Regions from separate parts of the Homo sapiens genome. Here all the other regions are linked to region 4. Evidence: promoter capture Hi-C in human tissues and cell types (Jung and others, 2019). All regions are on one chromosome and are shown on one strand. The core of a region is centred on a gene start or on the middle of the fragment in contact, and the rest is flanking DNA. Distances in the headings are between cores, read along the strand shown.

Region 1 (2,817 bases), core at 71-2,570, 76 kb after region 4:
TTATAGGCTTTAGCTACCACACCCAGTCGGAAAGTGTTTTAAAACAAGATTTTGGTGATGGTGCACAACTCCATAAATTTACTAAAAATAATCAAATTATACACTTGGGCAAATTTTAAGGTATTTAAATTATACCTCAATAAAACTGTGTTTAAAAGGGCTTAGATGTTGCCACACTGTCAAATCACTATCAAAGAGTTCCTAAACACTCTTCATTTCTATATACTTCTCCAGTTCACAGACAGGAATAGGGTCTACAGCCCACACTCTAAGAAGCACAGCTCTGACTTCTGCTAGATATTGGCTAATAGGCTTGGAGTAATCAATAGTTTTAACTGAAACTGACTTAATTTAATTTAAGCTGTTCAAGTTTAACTCCACTAAGTATTTCATTAAATAAGGAATTTACAAGTATTACTGACAAAAGGAAAATATGAAAACATGGTCTATTGCTGAATAAAAACATAACTCATTACAAAATGAGAGCCTGTAAATGAAATACCACTAAGAACAATGACTACCATAGACCCTTCTTTTTAATGTAGTATAACCAAGTTGATAAAGTCAGTGTATTTACAGATTAGACTACTAAAACCCAAAGCAATGACACTTTAAACGTATAAATGAATAAATGAAATGTTGTAATATTTTATATGTCATGGGACCAAATATCAGACATGCAAATGAATTACATGCATAGATTTGTTTCAGAGAAAGTCCCAACAACACATAAGCTTTACTTTGTTTCCAACTAAGTGTAAATCTAGGCTAAGTTCAACCAAAACTGGTAAGCACTTAGTGTCTATGTTGTAGTCTATTTTTTTTTTTTTTTTTTTTGAGACAGAGTCTCTCTCTGTTGCCCAGGCTGGAGTGCAGTGGCATGATCTCTGCTCACTGCAAGCTCCGCCTCCTGGGTTCACACCATTCTCCTGCCTCAGCCTCCTGAGTAGCTGGGACTACAGGCACCCGCCACCACGCCCGGCTAATTTTTTTTTTTTTTGTATTTTTAGTAGAGACGGGGTTTCACTGTGTTAGCCAGCATGGTCTCAATCTCCTGACCTTGTGACCCACCCACCTCGGCCTCCCAAAGTGCTGGGATTATAGGCGTGAGCCACCAGACCCGGCCTATGTTGTAGTCTAAAATTTAAATTCTTTTATAGTTAATATTTAAATTCATTTTATAGTAATTAGAAAAAAGCAACTGATGGGGACAGGAGGCAGAGAAATTCTAGGCAGAAAAGGGTGGGTCACCGGTTAAAACGCCACCCTCAAGCCAAAATGCCTGAAACCTTGGCCCAATGTGAGAACTTATATCTCTGTTTTCCTGTTTGTTGCCTTTTCCTAAACCACCCATGGCCCCACCCTGCCCCATTCTGTGCCTATAAAGACCCCAGACTCAGCTGGCAGAGAGGAGAACTAGCTGGACGTCAGGATGTCGGAGAGAAGTGGGTTGACTTTAGAGGGACAGCTTGATGGTGTAACTTTGGAGAAAAAACTAGCTGGAGACAGCTGGACTTCAGGGAAAGATTATCTACCCGCACCCCACCAACCCCTTTTCAGCTCCCCTTCCTGCTAAAAGCCACTTTCATCAGCAATAAAATCTCCCGCATTTACCATCCTTCAATTCATTCGTGTGACCTCATTTTTCCTGGACACCAGACAAGAGCTCAGGAGCCACGAGTGCAGATACAAAAGGCTGTCACACTGGCCCTTTGCCCTTGCTGGCAGAGGGCAGCCACCCCACACACGGGGGGAAAGGGCCCACTGAGCTGTTAACACTTAAGCCGTCCACAAATGGCAGAGCCAGAAGAGCACTGTAACATGCCCTCTGGAGCTTCGGGGGTCACAGGCACCCCACAGCCTGGATGCTGCCACGGGGCCCACACAGAGTTCACCCCTGCTGGTACTGAAGCAGCCAGCCGGTTCCAGCACTCATGCCCTCCAGTTCCTTCCTTGTTCACTCGCGCTCTCCTTCCTGTGAGGAGTTGAGAGAGGCAGGCTGAGTAAAGGAGAGACTCCTGCAAAGGGGCCAGGGAAATATCCTGCTTCACAATGATACTTTTTTTCTACAGCTCTGGCAAAACACAGACATGAAATAAAGACTCTCTAGTTTTAAAAAGGTCAAAGTAATTTGCTGAAGTTAACTTTTTTTTTGGAAAAATTAAATGCTCAACTTTTCCAGAACCCTATTTTTACTATAGTATTTCTCATTTGCAGGGTGAAAACAGATGCTCAATGTTTCAAGCATAACTGGGAAAAAACAAACTGAATTATAACAACTAAGAAAAAACAAACTTGGGTTATTAAAAAAAACTTTTCCGTTGGTAAATTTCATTCCACAGAACAGTTCAGCTTTAGTAATCTAAGCATTCCTTAGAGCTCAGATTCTTCCTATAGATTTACTACACAATGAAGCTACAACTACAAATCTGGTTTATTTACTTTCTTATAAGGTTTTTGAATTATCAAGTCAAAATTAGGTTTAAAAGAATTTTCTTCATATTTAACATGTGAGACCTGGATCTATGAATAGCTTTGCTTTGAATTAAAGAACATTAACTTTGAACTGGAAATTAAATTGAATGAGGGGAAAACGCCAAGATATCTATGATCATTCTTTTAATCAATATATTCCAATTATGTACAATAGTTCTAGTGCTGTTGTTCACTTTGTCCCTTGAAATTTTTGCAGCTATTCTAGAAAAGTAGAAAAAGGTTTTACAAAGTCTTTGTTGTCCTTCCCTCCATTATAACTACCCTTCTATTTCCTGACTCTTTGCACCTTGTATTTCACTTTAGATAAGAAGCTAGAAGAAC
Region 2 (2,914 bases), core at 136-2,635, 110 kb after region 4:
TATATCTATTATAAAGGGTTAATATCCAGAATTTATGAAGAACTCCTGCAAATCCACAACAACAACAACAACAACAAAAACCCAACTGTACAATAGGCAAAGGAGTTAAACAGGCATTTCTCCAGAGAAGATAAATAAATGGTCACCAAACACGTGAAAAGATGCTCAATCACTCATTATTAGAGAAATGCAAATCAAAACCACAATGATCAGGAGCTCATGTGCTCTTAAAAAAGCAAAACAAAACCAGGGTCAGGTTGAAATGGCTTACGCCTGTAATCCCAGCACTTTGGGAGGCCGAGGTCGGCAGATCACTTGAGGTCAGGAGTTCGAGACCAGCCTGGCCAACATGGTGAAACCCTGTCTCTACTAAAAATACAAAAATTAGCCAGGCATGGTGGTGCACACCTGTAGTCCCAGCTACTCGGGAGCCTGAAGCAGGAGAATCGCTTGAACCTGGGAGGCGGAGGTTGCAGTGAGCTGAGATCACGCAACTGCACTCCAGCCTGTGTGACAGAGAGACTCCGTCTCAAACAAAACAAAACAAAACAAGACACAATGAGTTAACACCTTGAACCCACTAGGATGGCTGCTACCCAAAATAAAACAAAGTAAAAACAAAAACAGAAAATAAAATAAGTATTAGTAAAGATGTGGAAAAATTGGAACCCTTGTGTACTGCTGGCAAGAATGTAAAATGGTAATGGCCACTATGGAAAACAGTATAAAGGTTCCCAAAAAATTAAAATTAGAACTACCACATGATCCAGGACTCCCAACTCTGGATACGTATTCAAAACATCTCAAAGCTGAATATCAAAGAGATATTTGTGTACTCATGTTCATGGTAGCATTATTCAGAAAAGAGGTGAAAGCAACCGGTGTCTATCAAAGGATGAATAGATAAAATGTGGTATATACATACAAGAGAATATTATTCAGCCTTTAAAAAAAAGGAAATCCTGTCACATGCTACAACATGGAGGAACCTTGAGGACAATGCACTAATTGAAACAAGCCAGTTGCAAAAAGACAAAAACTGTATGATTCCACTTATATGAGGTAAAGTAGTCAAACTCATAGAAACAGAAAGTAGAATGGTGGGCCAGGGGCTGGGTTGTTATTTAATGGGTATGGAATTTCAGTTTTGCAAAGATAAAAAAACTTTGGGCGATCTGTTATACAACAATGTGAATATACTTAACGCTCCTGAACTTTCATTTACATATGTATATATATTTTGAGACGGAGTCTCACTCTGTCGCCCAGGCTGGAGTGCAGTGGTGCTATCTTGGCTCACTGAAACCTCCGCCTCCTGGGTTCAAGTGACTCTTCTGCCTCAGCGTCCCCAGTAGCTGGGACTACAGGCGCCTGCCACCACACCCAGCTAATTTTTGTATTTTTAGTAGAGACAGGGTTTCACTATGTTGGCCAGGCTGGTCTCGAACTCCTGAACCCATGATCCACCTGCCTCACCCTCCCCAAGTGCTGGGATTACAGGCATAAGCCAGCACGCCCAGCCACCTGTGTGTTTTATCATCATTTTTGCAAAAATCCAAAATGATGACAAAACACACAGGTACTGAGGTGTGGACAAACAGGCCCCTCACATCTAAGTGAGAATGTAAATTTATACAGTATCTTTGGAAGACAACTAAGCAGTAGCTGTCAAAATTAAAAATGTATATATTATTTGACCCAGGAAGACAATTTGTTTTTTTTGACAAGGTCTTGTTTTGTTGCCCAGGCTCACTGTACCCTCAACCTCCCAGGTTCAAACGATCCTCCCGAGTAGCTGGGACTACAGGTGCACACTACCACACCTAGCTAATTCTTGTATTTTTTGTAAACACAGGGTTTCATATGTTGCTCATGCTGGTCTCAAACTGCTGAGCTCAAGTGATCCTCCTGCCTCGGCCTCCCAAAGTGCTGGGATTACAAACATGAGCTATCACACCCACCCTAGCAAGACAATTTCTAGGAATTTACCTTGCAAGGCTGTTTGCAAATGTATAAACCTATGTATTCAAGGTTATCCAATGCAACATTATTTATAAGAGCAAAATATTCAAACTAATTGTCAATTAATAGGACACTGGTTTAATTAATTGTAATCTGTCCACATAATGAGAATACTGTGCAAATGTTTTTGAGAAAAGTTCTTTGGGCCCGGTGCGGTGGCTCATGCCTGAATTCCCAGCACTTTGGGAAGCCGAGGCGGGCAGATCACAAGGTTGGGAGTTCAAGACCAGCCTGACCAACACGGTGAAACCCCGTCTCTACTAAAAAAGCAAAAGATTAGCTGGGCGTGGTGGCGCGTGCCTGTAGTCCCAGCTACTCAGGAGGCCAGGGCAGGAGAATCACTTGAACCCAGAAGACGGAGGTTGCAGTGAGCCAAGATCGCGCCACTGCACTCCAGCCTGGGCGACAGAGCGAGGCTCCACCTTAAAAAGAAAAAAAAAAAGTTCTTTATATATTTATTAAGTGAATATGATGGAGAAAGTAATGTATTTGCACTGGTTTGCACATATATAAAAACTGTATACCTGGAAGGATAGACAAAAAACTAGTAGCAGTGATGATCTCTTGAAGAATGGAAACTGAAAAGATAGGAAACTAGGGTAAGAAAGACTTTTCAGTCTACCTTTTTATATTTTGACATTGGAATAATATAAACATCTTATCTGTTCAAAAAAATTAATAGCGCACCCTTTTTAAAAAGACCCCAGCTGGGCACAGTGGCTCATGCCTGTAATCCCACTGAGGCGGGTGGATCATTTGAGGTCAGGAGTTCGAGATTAGCCCGGCCAACATGGTGAAACTCCATCACTACTAAAAATACAAAAATTAGCCAGGTGTGGTGGCACATGCCTGTAGTCCCAGCTACTCAGGAGCTGAGGCAGGAGAATTGCTT
Region 3 (2,866 bases), core at 201-2,700, 70 kb before region 4:
GACTACAGGCGCCCACGACCGTGTCCGGCTAGTTTTTTGTATTTTTAGTAGAGACGGGGTTTCACCATGTTAGCCAGGATGGTCTCAGTCTCCTGACCTCATGATCCGCCCGCCTCGGCCTCCCAAAGTGCTGGGATTACAGGCGTGAGCCACCACGCCCAGCCTGTTTTTCAATTCCAGAAGCTCTGACTGATTTATTTTCAAGATGTTTATCTATTCCTTCATTTTGTGGATTGCTTTAGAAGTTTCTTTAGGTTGATGTTCAACCTTGTCTTGGATCTTGTTGAGTTTCCTAGCAATCCATGCTTTGAATTCTTTATCTGTCATTTCTGAGTTTCAATTTTGGTTAAGGACTAGACATCTAGTGCGATCCTTTGGTGGTGTCACTACATTCAGATTTTTCATGGTGCCAGAATTCTTGCTTTGGTTCTTTCTCATCTGGAGATGCTGGCAATTCTAATTTGTGTGTGGGGGGACAGAATTTTTTTCTTTTTATTTCTTTCCCTATAATATCGGTTTTTTTTTTTTTTCCACCTTCCCTTTCCCTCTCCCCTGCCTAGGGGGTAATGACTGTAGAGAATATTAGATTGGGTCTTTTGGCTTTGCTTCTATAGCCTTGTATACTATCAGCAGATTTTATATTGGGTTGTGTGGTTTGATGTACAGGCCAGTAGATGGCACTTATAAGTAAGAGCCAGCTGTGGCCAGCGTGGCTGGGTATATTCTTGATCCTTGTTTACTGGCAGAAGCTCTCTGTTGCCTCAGGCAATGGGCTGATCCATGGAATGCACAGTGGCTTGAGCTCCCTGCTCAGTCCCAGGAGGTAAGATGAGTGGGGCTGGACCAGAGCAGGCCTGTCTACAGGTCCCTCAATGGCAGGCACAGCACCAACACCAAGGGAGAATCCAGTGGGCTGCCACCCAGTGCCCAGAGGTGTTGCTAGTTGTTGAGTTGGGAAACCTCCTTGGCCCCAAGTTCTATGCACAAGGAACCAGGGTGGCCTAAACTCCTAATCCAGGAGAGTGCATGCTCCAGGTGTCTGAGTGTGGAATGCAGAGGGCACTGCTGCACCACAATCTCTACACAGGGAGGGTGGGGTGGCAGGCTGCTAATTCATGTGAACGGATGCTCCGACTGCCTAGAGATCTGTCTGGGCATGGGGTGGATAGGGTGCCTCTTCACCATGGTCTCTATACAGGAAGGGTGTGCCAACTCAGACTGCAAATGCAGGCAAGCAGGTGCTCCAAATTCCTGAAGATCTGCCTGGGTGTGGAGCAGAGTGAGCCCCACTTCACTAGAGTGTCTGCACAGGAAGGATAGGGCAGCTCAGGCTGCTGATCTGGGTGAGTGGGTGCTCCAAATGCCTGGAGATCTCCCTGAGTGTTGAGCTGAGAGGGCCCCACTGCACCATGATCTCAGGAGAACAGTCTAGCATACCAAGCAATAACTCACTCAGACCAGTCCACAGGTCACCAAGCTGACCCTGGTTGCATCTTGTTGCCTAGGAGAAACCACAGCTGTAGCAGTCCCTTTCCCACCCCAGTCCTGTGACAGGGAAGAGCACATTGCCAGCACCTACTGCAAGGTGCTTTCTACAATTCTGGCTGTAGAAACCTCTATGCACCTCGAGAGCAGGCACTCCAATCTCTGGCCCAAGACTAAAATGCCTGTGTGGCCACGCTACTGTGTCGCCAAAGAATGACTAACTTTGTATGCCTGGATTAAAAGTGGCATCCTGGGCCTGGGAAATGCCTACAGCTTTTCCCAGTGTCTTTCCTTCTCAGTGTCTCCAAATATCTTCTCAAGTTACCTCCAGGACTTGGGAGAAACAAAGTGCTCTCCCTTGGCCTCTGTTGCTTGTATCTCCAGTGGAAAGGGCACTTTCCCAAAGTGCCCTTTCCACTGGATGGAAAGAGCCTGTCTGCCTCTCTCATGTACTGGGGCTTCACTCACTTTTATGAGCCAAATGCCATCACGGGGGCTGTTTGCCTTTGTTTTCCTCCCTGAGACCTAGGGTGTTCTTCATGATTCTGTTGGATTCCCATTTTCTTTCTTGAATTAAAGCCCACAGAGTTGATCTTTATGCACTACCTTGCAATTTCCAAGTGACTGAGGCACACTAACAGCCCCAAATCTGCCATCTTGGGGAAAAAAAAGGTTTTTGGTTTTTTTTTTTTTTTTGGAGACGGAGTCTTGCTCTGTCACTCAGGCTGGAGTACAGTGATATGATCTCAGCTCACTGCAACCCAGGACTCCTGGGTTCAAGCAATTCTCCTGCCTCAGCTTCCAGAGTAGCTGGGATTACAGGTGCACACCACCACACCCAGCTAATTTTTATGTTTTTAGTAGAGACAAGGTTTCACCATGTTGGCCAGGCTCATCTTGAACTCCTGACCTCAAGTGATCCACCCGCCTCAGGCTCCCAAAGTGCTGGGATTACAGGCATGAGCCACCGCACCCGGCCAACTTTTTTTTTTTTTTTAAGGTATGAAGTCTTGCTAAGTTGCCCAGGCTGGACTTCAGCTCCTGCAGTCAAGCAATCCTCTTGTTTCAGCCTCCCAATCAATTCATTTTCTTTTATGTCTATATTTGTGAGCAATATTAGTCTGTAGTACTTTTTTTTCTTTTCTTGTCATGTTTTTCTGGTTTTGGTACCAAGATAATGCTAACCTCAGCTGGGTGCGGTGGCTGATGCCTGTAATCCCAGCACTTTGGGAGGCCAAGGTGGGTGGATCACCTGGGGTCAGGAGTTTGAGAGCAGCCTGACCAACATGGTGAAACCCCATCTCTACTAAAAATACAAAAATTAGCTGCGCGTGGTGGCACGCACCTGTAGTCTCAGCTGCTAGGGAGGCTGAGGTGGGAG
Region 4 (3,081 bases), core at 250-2,749:
AGGCTCACCCACTAGCCAGGTACCCAGGTTGGCTGTCTGGCTTCTCCCACTGAGACACACCTAGACTGGAGGCAACCCCAGACCACCATACATCCTGCTGTCTGTGTTTTAGCCCTAGCTGCCTGACCTGGCTCAGGAATTAGTGAATGTGATCAAGAATGGGGGTGTAAGAATGGTGACTGAGCACGGGAGCCAGGAGCCAGGAATGTATTGGGGAGTGGGGGGCACTGAATCAGCAGGCTGCAGGAGCCAAGCACACTGGCAAAGCAGATGGAGGAGCCCGGAGTGGGGAGAGCGCAGGGCTGGGCTCCCACCCCCTATCAGGAACCGGAGACCAAGGAGGACCTAGGCAGAGAGCTGGGAAGCCCCACGGGGGATGTGAGGGAGAGGAGGAGGGAGGGGCTTTCATCACTTCCCCTGTGCTCAGAGCCCCCAGAACCGGGGATCCAGAGCTCGGGGCGCCTTCTCCAAACTTCCCCAGTCCTGATGGGAGTCCCCAAACCATCTTCTTGGGGCTAGATGGCCTCCCCAAGTCTAGGGGGTTCAGGCTATGAGACACGGGGCTTGGACACACGGTGCTCTCCCGAGTGCCGCCTACTCTTATCTCCGTTTGCAAATCTCTTTTCTAAATCTGTGTTTTGAGCCCTCTCAGCTGTCCCTGAGCACTGTTCACCCGCCTCGCCTTACCCCACCAGTCCGAGGGTAGTTGCTGCGACAGCGCCAGACGCAGGGGTGGGATGGGTCAGACTGACTAGGTTCGGGTTCGAGACCCGGCTAACAGAGAGCATCCCAGGACCCACACCCAGGGACTTCTGGCCCTGTTGCCTCGCCTGAAGCAGTGTTGACCCCGAACCTTCGAACCTTCGGGGAAACAGCGCCTAGCAGGAGACGATGGCCCCAGCCTCAAGAGGGGCGGGTAGGGAGGAGAGGGTGAGAATAGGCTGGCGCCAAGCTGGGCTGCTGGGGGTTCGGGGAAGGCGGGAGCCCTGGCGAGGGTCCGGCGGCCCGGGTGCAAGTGGGCGAGGGTCGGACTCACGCGTGCCGTCGAAGCGCGTAGCGATGGTGTCCAGGAAGGTGTTCTGCGGCGCCAGGAGGCCCCGCATGGCCGGCATCTTAGGCGCCCGCGGCTGCCCGCCCCATCCCTCCGGGGTGCGGGGACTCCGCGCCGGGGGAGGGCGCCCAGCTCGGCCGCCCCCCGCCGGGCCCCGCGCTCCCTAGCGCAGCCGTCGGGGGGCAATGCGCAGACCGGGATCCGGGGTCGCGCCGGACGCTGGCGCGCGAGGGGGCGTCCGCGCCGTCGGGGCCCGGAGCATGGCGCGCGGCCCCTCGCGCCCTCGCCGCCCACAAATCCCGGGCTCCAGGCCCCGCGGCCGCCGCGCTCTCAGCACCTCCCGCCGCGGCAGCGGCTCGCGTGTCGGCTGCGGGTGGGCTTCCGCTCGGCTTCGCTCGGCGCCGGCTCTCGGCAGCTCCCTCCGTCTGTCGGGGAGAAGCTGCAGCCTCCCTCCCTCCCTCCCGCGCCCGCCGCCTGCACCGGGGTAACCATGGAGACGGGGCACACCCAGCCAGGGCCGCCTCCTTAAAGGGACAGGCCTCCCGCGGAGGGCTCCCCTCCCTTCGGGACCTCGGCGGGGGCGGGGAGGTGGCGGCCGCCCTGATCCCACCCCGCGGGCCTCCCCGCCCGTACCTCGGAGAACCACTGGCGAGCGGCCGGCCCCCTTTGGCTCACTCGGCCTCAGCCGCAGAGGGGAGGCGTCTTTCTCTGCAGCCCGGGGGCTCTCCGAGAGCCTCCTAGCAGCCTCTCCTCCCCCGGCGGAATGGGAGGGGGGCTCGGGGCGTGGGGGGCAGGGGACGCATGCTGTGGAAGATGCTCTCCCCGAGGAAAATGCAGTGGGCAAGGGGACAGGGCGACAGGCGCAGGTGAAGGCCCTGCGGCCAGCGGAGGCCGGCGCTCTAGAGGGGCTCCAGCCGCACCCGGGAAATCTAAAAGCAGATGGGGCGGGGGTTCTGCGCGCACAGCTGCCCGGCCCTCGAGACTTTCTCATCCTCAACTTGACGCTCTGGAAAATGGATCCAGCTGCTCCTATGAGGTGTCTCCGCAAGCAGGAGCTGCCTGGAAACCAGAGGGTGGGTAGCCCTAGGAGTAAGGGTCAGACGTCCTCCGTGTGACCCCGTGGGCGGAAAGGGTGTGTGGTGGGGAGGGGAGCGCCAGACCCCTTGTCCTGCCCCTCCATTTCCCTCTGGCATTTGTCACCTCTTGCCTCTCCTAAGCGCGCTAGAGGGTCAGGTGGTAAATACAGGGGACCGGCAGGGGTCAGACACTGCGAAAAAACTTCCGAACCTTGTGCGTGCGGGTCCTGGCACCAGGAGAGCGAGGAAGGCCGAGCCCCGCGCCTCACGCAGCTCGTCCTGGAGAGCTCCGCGCGGCGCCGCGCGGGGTGCTGCCCTGGGGCGGCTGCAGGGAGCCCCTTCCCGGCGGGGCGGAGCCGGGCCCGGGGCGGCCGTCTTTTCTTGGCCTCCCGCGCTGCGACGGTCCCCCGGACTTGCCTGCCAGCGCCGCTCCTCCTCCCTCCCACGATTTGCCAGCGAGCGCGGCTGCCGCCCGCGCCCAGAGGAGCCGCCGGGGCCAAAACAGCAATTTGTTCCCTAACGAGCGAAGCGGTAGGCTCAGCACCCCCATCCCTCGAGACGCACTCACAGTCACCAGCATCAGAAAGATGCTACCCCTCATCAGCGACGAGAGCCAAAGCCCCAGGCACCTGTATCTAAATGAGCTGGCGCTTTGGGAAGGGAGGACGCGCTCCTCCTTCTCCGGTCCTGTGAAGCCTGGAATCTGGTCCCCAGGACGAGGAGTGACCCTGAGGAGTGACCCTAAGGAGTCGGGAGATCCTACTCCCATCTCATCCCCAGCCTTGGCTGGATCCTGGCTGTAAAGTAATCCCCTCCCCCAGCCGTTCAAGGCTTCCTCTCCAGGCGGCGGTCCAGCTGTCTACTAAAAAGAAGGACATTTTAGGAGTCAGTTCACTTTGAGACAGGATAAGGCCACAATTGAAATCACCCACCCACTTGGGAACCAGGTCTGCC

Evidence for each region. Contacts are between HindIII fragments. The study calls those that stand out against the background at their distance.
Region 1: a contact is called between a fragment that was not itself captured here and the fragment with the promoter of KCNH3 in region 4, in 2 of the 25 tissues and cell types used here (adrenal gland and mesenchymal stem cells).
Region 2: a contact is called between a fragment that was not itself captured here and the fragment with the promoter of KCNH3 in region 4, in 2 of the 25 tissues and cell types used here (lymphoblastoid cells and psoas muscle).
Region 3: a fragment that was not itself captured here is called in contact with the fragment with the promoter of KCNH3 in region 4 in 3 of the 25 tissues and cell types used here (aorta, dorsolateral prefrontal cortex and mesenchymal stem cells).

Annotation. Positions count from the first base shown.
Region 1 is chr12:49,461,433-49,464,249 of GRCh38, reverse strand. The region is part of intron 3 of SPATS2 (spermatogenesis associated serine rich 2); the gene reads right to left. Among named protein-coding and RNA genes, the nearest start is that of KCNH3, 76 kb to the left of the region's middle. The HindIII fragment of the contact is 4,568 bases long and covers 1-2,817 here.
Region 2 is chr12:49,430,800-49,433,713 of GRCh38, reverse strand. All of the region lies in intron 2 of SPATS2 (spermatogenesis associated serine rich 2), which reads right to left. Among named protein-coding and RNA genes, the nearest start is that of SPATS2, 65 kb to the right of the region's middle. The HindIII fragment of the contact is 7,181 bases long and covers 1-2,914 here.
Region 3 is chr12:49,607,807-49,610,672 of GRCh38, reverse strand. It overlaps a transcript of FAM186B not described here. Among named protein-coding and RNA genes, the nearest start is that of FAM186B, 3.6 kb to the right of the region's middle. The HindIII fragment of the contact is 4,316 bases long and covers 1-2,866 here.
Region 4 is chr12:49,537,448-49,540,528 of GRCh38, reverse strand. It overlaps KCNH3 (potassium voltage-gated channel subfamily H member 3), which reads right to left and starts at 1,499. Exons shown (of 15, transcript NM_012284.3): 1 at 1,037-1,499. The coding sequence starts at 1,112. RefSeq lists enhancers at 570-1,379, 1,380-2,191 and silencers at 1,509-1,688, 2,419-2,538. The HindIII fragment of the contact is 20,416 bases long and covers 1-3,081 here.